Regions from separate parts of the Homo sapiens genome. Here regions 1 and 2 are each linked to region 3. The links are contacts of gene promoters, found by promoter capture Hi-C in human tissues and cell types (Jung and others, 2019). All regions are on one chromosome and are shown on one strand. The core of a region is centred on a gene start or on the middle of the fragment in contact, and the rest is flanking DNA. Distances in the headings are between cores, read along the strand shown. Region 1 overlaps ENPP3 (ectonucleotide pyrophosphatase/phosphodiesterase 3). Region 2 overlaps MED23 (mediator complex subunit 23). Region 3 holds the start of ENPP1 (ectonucleotide pyrophosphatase/phosphodiesterase 1).

Region 1 (3,328 bases), core at 591-3,090, 130 kb after region 3:
CACCCCACCCTTCTCTCTTTCAGTTTCTCCTAACTAAAATAAAAGACAATTGATTATGATCCATTCATTCAATTTTTAAAAATGTATGCATATGCATATATTGAACATTTATTGCTGGATACTATTTGTTCATTCAAAACAGAATGTATCAGTGAGGAAACCAAAGATTACATTCTAATGCAGGAAGACAAGTACCAAACAATAGACCTAATATAAAAATAAATTATATAGCGTATTAAAAGGTGATAAATGTTGTGGACCAAAAAAAAAAAAAAACTAGAGCAGAGTAACTGAGATGAAGGTGGTTTGAAATTTTAAATCTTAAGTATAACTGGGGTAAGACAATATTGAGAAGGTAATTTTTCAACAGAGCTGGAAGGCAGGGAAAGAGTAGGCATTCGGATCCATGGAGCAAATCATCTCAGGGAGGGTGAACAGCCAGTGCAATGTCCTGCAGCAGAAGCAAGTCTAGCATGTTGAAGTCCACCAACGAGTTCAGAGTGAGCACCCGAGGGAGTAGCAGAAGGGGAGGTCTGAGAGGTAAGGGGACACCAGAGGTCATGCCACACAGGGCCTTGTAAGCTTTTACTCTGAGTGACACAGGGGGCCATTGAAGTTTTTGGTGCAAAATAATGCCATAATTGGACTTGCATTTTATTTTATTTAATTTTATTTTATTCATTTGAGACGGAGTCGCGCTCTGTCGCCCAGGCTGGACTACACTGCAGGAGCCCCTGATCTCAGCTCACTGCAACCTCCACCTCCTGGGTTCAAGCTATTCTCCCACCTCAGCCTCCAGAGTAGCCAAGATTAGAGGTAATGCGCCACCATGCCCAGCTAATTTTTGTATTTTTTCTTCTGGTAGAGACAGGGTTTCACCATGTTGACCAGGCTGGTCTTGAACTCCTGACCTCAGGTGATCAGCCCATCTCAGCCTCCCAAACTGCTGGGATTACAGGCATGAGCCACCGCACCTGGCTGGACTTGAATTTTAAAGGAATCCCTCTGGTGGGTGGGATGAGACTAGATTATAAAGGATAAGAAGCAGAGATGAGTAAAGAGGCAACTGCAGTTAATACAGGCAAGAGATGACAGCTCGAACCAGAGTGGTAATGCTAGAGGTAATAAAAAGTTCTCAGGCTACATAGATTTTTAATTACAGCCAAAAGCATTTACTGAGAGACTGCTTGAGTGACATAAAGGAAAGGAATCAATGGTGATTCCCAAGATTTTTGGCTTAAACAACTGGATTAATAGAATTGCCACCAAGATTAAGACAGAAAACATCTTGATCATTTCTGCCTAGCTGGGAGAATATCTGAAAGTGCTTCACTACCCGTTGTAAGGCATGTATATGGAAGGAAAGGAGCCATTTATAGCCACTTCTGATCCGGGCCAAAAGTAGGTAGCGGCTTTTAAACCTTGATACATTGCTGTCAGCCACATCTGTAAGAAAATTTAGGATAAGCGAAAGTCAGTAATTACTTTGGGTAGAAATGGTGTACCTTACTAGAAACTAAACAAGATTAATAGTTGCAACATGTATTAAAATTGAAATTTTAATCTTTGTAGTAATTAAAAGATATAATTATCTAAGAATCTGCCTCAAAAATCAAAAACGTAGCAATCAAACTGGTAAAATTGGATGGTTCCTCTCTCCCTTTAAAAGAATTACAACCTGTAATCCCAGCACTTTGGGAGGCCGAGGCAGGAGGATCACGAGGTCAGGAGATAGAGATCATCCCGGCCAACATGGTGAAACCCCATCTCTACTAAAAATACAAAAAAATTAGCTGGGCGTGGTGGTGCGTGCCTGTAGTCCCAGCTACTCGGGAGGCTGAGGCAGAAGTGCTTGAACCTGAGAAGCAGAGGTTACAGTAAGCCGAGATCACACCACTGCACTCCAGCCTGGCGACAGAGCAAGACTCCATCTCAAAAAAAAAGAAAAAAAAAAAGACTTACAAAACAAAATGAGGAAAAACATTAACAGATAATCTTTCTGAGTAACTTCCAGATGGATACATTTATAACCCAATATCCAAGTTTAAACATACCTATTTGAGTTAACAACCATAAATGTTTTAAAAATTCAAGTTACAAATAGTGGTAAAACACCTTTGCACCCTCAGCCCTTAGAAACTAGATGGGTGACATAGAACTTGCTCCACTGAGTGAGAAGAGTGTCCTCCTGTCACACTGAGAAATGGAGGTTACTTCAGTTGCGACGTGTAGAATGCTACATACTGGTTGCCCATGCCACCAGGCTGGATTATTTTGTTCCTTTGAAGAAAGTGAAAAATTCTTGTTGAGATTTACATCATACATATTATTGTCAATGATGCCATGTGACTCTGGATACAAGCCCTAAAATGATAATTTCAAAAAAGATGTAAGATAAAATATTAGTAAAATAGAAATTTAAATTAAAATAGCACACGATCTATTACTCATACCTAAGAAAGGTACTATATACCTTTCAATGTAAAACACCTGGACCTGAACTTACATATCAGGAGATATTGTCATCCCTTGGCTTTCATAGGGCATTAGTTCCATGACCTCCCTCAGGTACCAAAATCAGAAGATGTTTAAGTCCCTGCTAGTAAATGGCTTGGGATTTGCATATAACCTATGCATACCCTCCTATATATTTTAATCATCTCTAGATTACTTATAATAGCTAATGCAATATACATGCTATGTCAATCATTGTTGTATTGTTTAGGGAATAGTGACAAAAAAAAGTCTGTACATGTTCAGTACAGACGCAATTTTTTTCCAAATATTTTCTTTCTTTCTTTCTTTCTGTCTGTCTGTCTGTCTGTCTTTTCTTTCTCTCTTTCTTCCACTTTTATTTTAGGTTTGGGGGTACATGTGAAGGTTTGTTACCTAGGTAAACATGTGTCATAGGGGTTTGTTGTACATATTATTTCATCACCCAGGTATTAAGCCAGCACTCAATAGTTATACTTTCTGCTCCTCTCCCTCCTCCCACCCTCCTGCCTCAAGCAGACCCCAGTGTCTGTTGTTTCCCCTTTGCGTTAATAAGTTCCTATCATTTAGCTCCCACTTATAAGTGAGAATGTGTGGTATATAGTTTGCTAAGGATGATAGTCTCCAGCTCCATTTATGTTCCCACAAAAAACATGAGCTTGCTTTTTTATGGCTGCATAATATTCCATGGTGTATAGGTACCACTTTCTCTATCTAGTCTGTCATTGATGGGCATTTAGGTTGATTCCACCCAAATATTTTCAATCCACAGTTAGTTGAATCCACGGATTCAGAACCCACACATATGGAGGGCCAAGTGTGTATATATATATAT
Region 2 (3,210 bases), core at 426-2,925, 180 kb after region 3:
CAGTGACAGTAATATTTATATATGCCATAAAGGGCACTGTTTACAATGCCTTACAACAATCTGTGTTAAGAGTTTTCTATTGACCGTTAATATGTTAACTAATTAATTACTACTTTTGAAGTTCCCATGTAATAAAAATGGTAGCATTTTATCTATGTAATTACAAAATGTTAAGCTTAATGTGACAAATACTAAATCTGAATTTTTTAATTTTGCTTTTTTTAAAAATTATTTTCATCCACAGATGCTCATAGTGAAGTATTTCTTTCATAGTATTGGTATACTTCCAGTTGTAGTATTAGCTATTGGTTATAAAAATGTAACTTTAGACCCCAAGTAAAATCATTCTCTCATTTTCCAGGAGTCTCATGAACAGTGTATCCAGTGGATTGTTAAGTTTATTCATGGTCAGCATAGTCCTAAAAGAATTTCTTTTCTTTATGACTGCTTAGCAATGGCAGTTGAGACTGGTCTCCTTCCACCCAGGTACGTTTAATGGGTATGAGCAATCTGAAGAATTTTCTTTTCTATATGTGATTGGAAATTGGTTGAGGTTGTTGTTGTAAAAAGGTAAGAGAATGAAGAAGAAGGTGAGGTTTATCAAGTAATCCTTTATATAATACCTCAGGTTTTAGTTTCTAGGAGTAATAGTCTTTGAATTAGGTAATGCTTGTGGGCTCAAAACCAGATGTTTCTGCCCAGGGGCTGAAATTAATCACTTTAATTAGTTTGTAACCCTTTACTTTTGCTGCACAACCTCAACACCTTATGGCTTAAAACAGTAATACTCAGGTTTTAAAATTATTCATGGTTTTAGTGGTTGACTCGGCTTAGGAGACACTTTTTACTCAAGGTCATAATGATTGTGATCAATGTGGCTAGGGCTGGAGCATGGCAAAAGCTTCCCCACTCAGATATCTGGTGGTTGATTCCTGGCTGTCATCTGGAACCTCAGCTGGGATTATTAGCCAGAACCTCCGCAGGCCCTCACCTTGTGGCCTAGACTTTCTCACCTCATGGTGGAGCCTAACAGCAAGTGTGCAAAAGAGGGCTAGGCAGAAATTGTATCACCTTGTCTTCTTGGAAGTCATACTGCATCCTTTTGGCCATAGTCTTAGGTCTGCCCAGATCTAAGGAGTGAGAACGTAGACTTTCCCCCTACCTCTCCTTGGGAGAAATGTCAGTGTCACATTTCAGAAGAAGATGTGGGATCAAAAATCTTGTTGCCATCCTGTTGGAAAAATCCAGTGTACCACAAGGTGATAGATGGTAAACATCTAACCGAAAGCTTTAGATAGACTTCTTTCTAGTAAAATATAACATAATGAATATTATTTCATTCTTACTTTGTTTTTGATCTTTCATACAAGTAAAAAATGTAAAATACTACACAGATTTATAAGTGTGCTTAGTAATCACTTTTATGAAAGACACTTGTGAGGATAAATATAATACAGTGCACAGACTATGGCTGTATTAGTCTGTCTGATGCTGCTAACAAAGATATACCCGAGACTGGGTAACTTATAAAGGAAAGAGGTTTAATTGACTCACAGTTTGGCATGGCTAGGGAGGCCTCAGGAAACTTAGAATAATGGCAAAAGGCACCTCATCACAGGGTGGTGGGAGAGAGAATGAGTGCCCAGTGAAGGGGGAATCCCCATATAAAACCATTAGATCTTGTGAGAACTAACTCACTATCATGAGAACAGTATTGGGGGAACTGTCCCTCATGATTTAAATGGTTTTTCTCATGACACGTGGGGATTATGGGAACTACAATTCAAGATGAGATTTGTGTGAGTACACAGCCAAACCATATTGGCGGCTATTAGAGAACTTGGAAAATTCTGTCTTGTAACTGGAATGGCTATTTCTTTTTTTATAGGCTGGTTTGTGAATCCCTGATAAACTCTGACACTCTTGAGTGGGAAAGAACACAGCTTTGGGCCTTAACATTTAAACTGGTTCGGAAAATAATTGGGGGAGTGGATTACAAGGTATATTTTTCTTATTATAAAAAGTGATTGCTTTCAGATATGATTGATTTTTCGGTGTGCATGTCTTATTTTCAGGTGAGAGAAATGATGTGGAAGCATTTACAAAATCTGTCTATTTCTTGTGGTATATTTCCTGAAAAGATTTAAAGTTACTCAGTTGTTTCCCTGGCTCCGCTACTCCCCTCCCAACATTCTTATAAATACAGGTAGCTGATACATTTTTATGAAGAGCAGGGAAGTCACAAAGCAGAATCCGTGTTCCTTCATGCTGCAAGTATTATGATCCCTTCAAATGAAAGCACAGAGCAGGGGTGTGTGGAACTGAGAAGGGATGTAGGCATCACTGATGAAGGGAGCAAGACCTGGCTTCACTTCTCTTGAACGTGGGTCTTACCTCAATTAATATCTTCAGCACTTTGGGCTCTTGACCAAAAACAACATACACTTTCTAGTTTTGTCTCATAAAACGGCTTAGGGACTCCATAGCTACAAAAGCCATTCTGCATCTTCAGGAGACTTTTGTTATTGTCCTTTTCCCGGGAATTACCAGTGTCTGACCCTGTGCTTTATTTCTGCATTTTCTCTAATCTGAAATGATTTAACAGGTAATGACCTAACAGATAATTATTAGTTTAAATCATGATTTATCACACAGTTAACTCTAAGAAGCTTTTGCTAATTATTTTCTCTTTACTCAGACTTATGCAATTTTCTTATTTGTATGATACTTCATAATTGTTCTTTTAGGTATATGTTCTGTCTTTTACAAGCTTGGTTACGTAGTTCATAGTCAATAAATAAATGTTGAATGAAATTTCTTCTTTATATATCAGATAATGTAACTGGTATTGGATATGTGGAAATGATTAACAGAATAGCCTTGGATATCCTTGAGAGATTAAGGTATGTGATGGATGAGAAGGGAGAATAGGCCAGTCACAGTGGCTTACACCTATAATCCCAGCACAAAAGGGAGTGAGCAGAAACAGTCCTCTACCAAAAAGTTTGATATTGTTACTCAAGTTTTCAGAGTGCATTGAAGTCTTGTTACAATATATTTCTGTCTATATGTATAATTAAGGTTTTTGACCCTTGTAACAACGTAAACCCTTCTAATGTTATGAGGGCCAAAAAAGCTTGACAAACTGTATAATGACTTTCTTTGCTCATTGTATTTTAAGACAGTCTTTAGAACTCTGTTTTGGAACAT
Region 3 (3,145 bases), core at 175-2,674:
CTTCTTTTTAAGTACTAAGCATACGGCACCATCTCTTAAGTCTAGGAAGATTGATTCCTCAAAGTATTATAGCATCTCCATGATGTCCCAAATATAGTGAAAATGGAAATGCATACAAAATGAAAGGAGACTTGAAAAATTAGAAATTTTTCTACAAAGCATTATTCAATCATATGTAAGGGGATATATTTTAGGGTACACTATACATAGAAATCTGTGATTTCCATATAATACAATAAAAATGATTCTATTTCCTTGCTGTTTTCAATTTACTTCCCTACCTACATTCTTCAGCTTGATTTTCACAATAATCCCATGCAATGCACAAGGGAGTTGATGTTGTCCCATTTTCACACATTAGAAATTGAGGTTTAGGGACAGTTACGCAAGGCCTCAGCAAATAATAACAGCCAGGAATCCAGGCCTTCTCTCAATCAGCACTTCCCACCATGAATTCAGAATAAAAACCAACCCCCACATTTCATGAAGTTGACTGTGGGTCCTGCAAATGTCATAGCAAAATAGCAGAGGAGTAATAGGTAGCTTTTGTTAGCAACACAAACCGTGTAGCCTCTGGTTAGAAGAGTGGGCAAAGAATCATAAAGGTTTCTTCAGTCACATAATGTGAACATCCATGGAATTTCTGAGCACCTGCAAGGAAATTCCAAAACGGAGCGAAAGGGAAAAAGTGTTCCGTAGAGTTCCTAATAAAACTTAAAGAGCTCCGCTAACTCTTCAACTGCAATCAGTTAACCCAAGTGAAGTCATGTATACTGCGCCCAGAGCCCCCTAAAAGAAGCAACACATTGATGCACCTTCTTAAGACCAACAACTTTCGCGTTTGACATTTTTCTCCTCTAAAAACCCGTACTCTCCTGGGGCAGGGGGTCGAGTATTTCTAAGGATGACCGTTTTGAACAGCCTGCTTTCACAGGCATCCATAATTCAAGTGAGAGTGAACCATCCTGCCCTGGCAAGGTACCTGGCAGGGGCGGCTGTGTAGGGCACTTGCAAAGGCTGCGGAGGAGAGCGCGCGGGCGAAGAAGCACTCCCGGACCATGCCTCTCTCCGGTGCCCGGTGCTGACTGCGCTGAGAGCGCAGGAGCTCGGCGCCGCCCTCCCCGTACTCCCAGCCCTCCCGGGCGCCGGGGCCTGGCCGCGGACCTACCAGCGAGAGTACTTTATAGGTGTTGGGGTCCTTGGCAGTGCGGGCGCGCGCCGCCTTCTCCAGCGGCTCCTCCCCCACGTCCATAGGGGCCAGCAAGGACGCGGCCGCCTGCGGGTCCCCGGGCGCCTCGGCAGCGTGGCTGCGGCCCCGATCGCGGCCGTTCCCCGCCGGGCCCTCCCGGGGAGCGCGCCCGCCCTCGCCGCCGCGGCTCCCGCCCCCCGCGCAGCCGTCGCGCTCCATCGTGGCCCCGGCCGCTCCGGCCCCGCTGCCCGGCCGCGCCTTTAATAGGCCCCGCGCCGCCCGCCCCGCCCCGCCCCTCCCCGCCGCGCCCGCCCCTCGCGGTCAGATCCTTGGCTCCCCGCCCTACACCCGGCTCTCGCAGTCAGGGCAAAGCGACTCAACGCCCCGGATTATTTGGCTTCCTGTCTGATTTCGGGCACTCTGTGTGTCGGTTATTTTGGGTCCCTTACGTGGGCGTGTCTTAAACTTCCCCCCAAGCCGTCCCCTCCCCGCGCCCCGGCCACCCTCCCGACACTTGCAGGAATCGCCCTGCGTGGCCTCGCGGCGCGGGCTGGGCTGGAATTGCAGCGTGTGGTCTGCAGAGGGCATGAGATCATGGGGCCCCAAAATAGAGCGGGGAGGAGGAGAAGGATGCAGCCGCCGATGCCGGTCCGGCTTCTCAAAGGCGGGAGAGAGTGGAGTCTTGGGGTCGACCTGTGAGTTTCTGGATGGAAATGCAAATGAACCATGGAGGAAGGCGACTTTCTGTTTCTCCCCCTCTGCGCCCCGTCCCCCACTACCTACGGTACTCTGAGAGAGAAATCGTCCACTTAAAATACGTGGGTTCACATGTACTGAACACACGTAAGGGATATTTCGATTCCCACGGTTTTATGTGGTTTCTGGAGTCTTCTCGCTATTGTTTGTATGTATATTTGCTTATTTTTCTAGACTTTCTGTATTGAAGGTTTCAGGAGTTGGCGTTGCCCTCTCCTGAGGTTGACACTGATACCTAGCTATATCAAAAGTGTTAATGCAATCTGAAATACTTTGATAAGCCTTATTTTTCAACTAGGACGCTAACAGTGAGCTGATTCTTGGTGGGTTTTGTTTTACCTTTGATTCTGGAACTTGTACATTTTCTGGCTCATCACTTAGCAAAATCACCAGTGTGTAGTGAAGTGAGACAGAGGGAAACCAGTGACTTCGAACTACTTTGCAATACCCAGGACTGACTTCAGGTACCAAGGAAAACAATTAATTTTCAATACATTTTGAATACATGAATATATACAAGTGTTTACAAATGAGAATGAATGTTTAACAAATATAAAATGCATGTTATCCCTTTAAAATAGTCAACTTGGGATGCTCTTCATTTATACTGACTCATCCATCCACCCATCCATTTATTCATCAAGTAATGAATCCTTCAACTCAATCTTTTGGCCTCCAACTATGCATACCATATAAAAAATGAATTAAAATGTATCTTTCCTTAAGTGTGGTGGAAGCGGGGGTGGGGGGGTAGGACCAACTCGTAAACAAAATAATTAAAACCTAAGTCATATATGCAGAATAGAGTCACACATAGGATATTGATACAGGAGATAGAAATTATTTAGGCAGATAGTATGAGCAAAAGAGCCCTCGGCAGAACTTACCTTCTAACAAAAAGCAGCCCAAGAAATCACTTCCTTTCTAACAAAGAGCAACCTGGAAGATTGGGCTGCAAACATAGGTAAGGAAACTGGAAGCTTGCACGGGAGATGCCGGCAGCGGCACAGACAGAAGGGGCTACTGGGGCCAGGCATGTCCACCATGGGGGTTCCACCTCCCCTCTTTTTTACCACATGCACAGTAAGAAGGAAATAAGCAACACGGAGTAGCTACCTGCCTATATAGTAGAAGATTGGGGCCGGGGCTGCCAGACACTTAAGCCCTATGCAGATGACACACCTGGTCCTAACCGGGTTT

Evidence for each region. Contacts are between HindIII fragments. The study calls those that stand out against the background at their distance.
Region 1: a contact is called between a fragment that was not itself captured here and the fragment with the promoter of ENPP1 in region 3, in 1 of the 25 tissues and cell types used here (IMR-90 fibroblasts).
Region 2: a fragment that was not itself captured here is called in contact with the fragment with the promoter of ENPP1 in region 3 in 1 of the 25 tissues and cell types used here (dorsolateral prefrontal cortex).

What each region holds. Positions count from the first base shown.
Region 1 is chr6:131,673,198-131,676,525 of GRCh38, reverse strand. ENPP3 (ectonucleotide pyrophosphatase/phosphodiesterase 3) reads right to left here. Exons shown (of 25, transcript NM_005021.5): 8 at 2,245-2,364; 9 at 1,337-1,446. Among named protein-coding and RNA genes, the nearest start is that of OR2A4, 27 kb to the left of the region's middle. The HindIII fragment of the contact is 5,272 bases long and covers 1-3,328 here.
Region 2 is chr6:131,622,141-131,625,350 of GRCh38, reverse strand. It overlaps MED23 (mediator complex subunit 23), which reads left to right. Exons shown (of 29, transcript NM_004830.4): 4 at 362-486; 5 at 1,889-2,000. Among named protein-coding and RNA genes, the nearest start is that of MED23, 4.5 kb to the left of the region's middle. The HindIII fragment of the contact is 5,524 bases long and covers 1-3,210 here.
Region 3 is chr6:131,806,299-131,809,443 of GRCh38, reverse strand. ENPP1 (ectonucleotide pyrophosphatase/phosphodiesterase 1) reads right to left here and starts at 1,424. Exons shown (of 25, transcript NM_006208.3): 1 at 1,169-1,424. The coding sequence starts at 1,408. The HindIII fragment of the contact is 10,154 bases long and covers 1-3,145 here.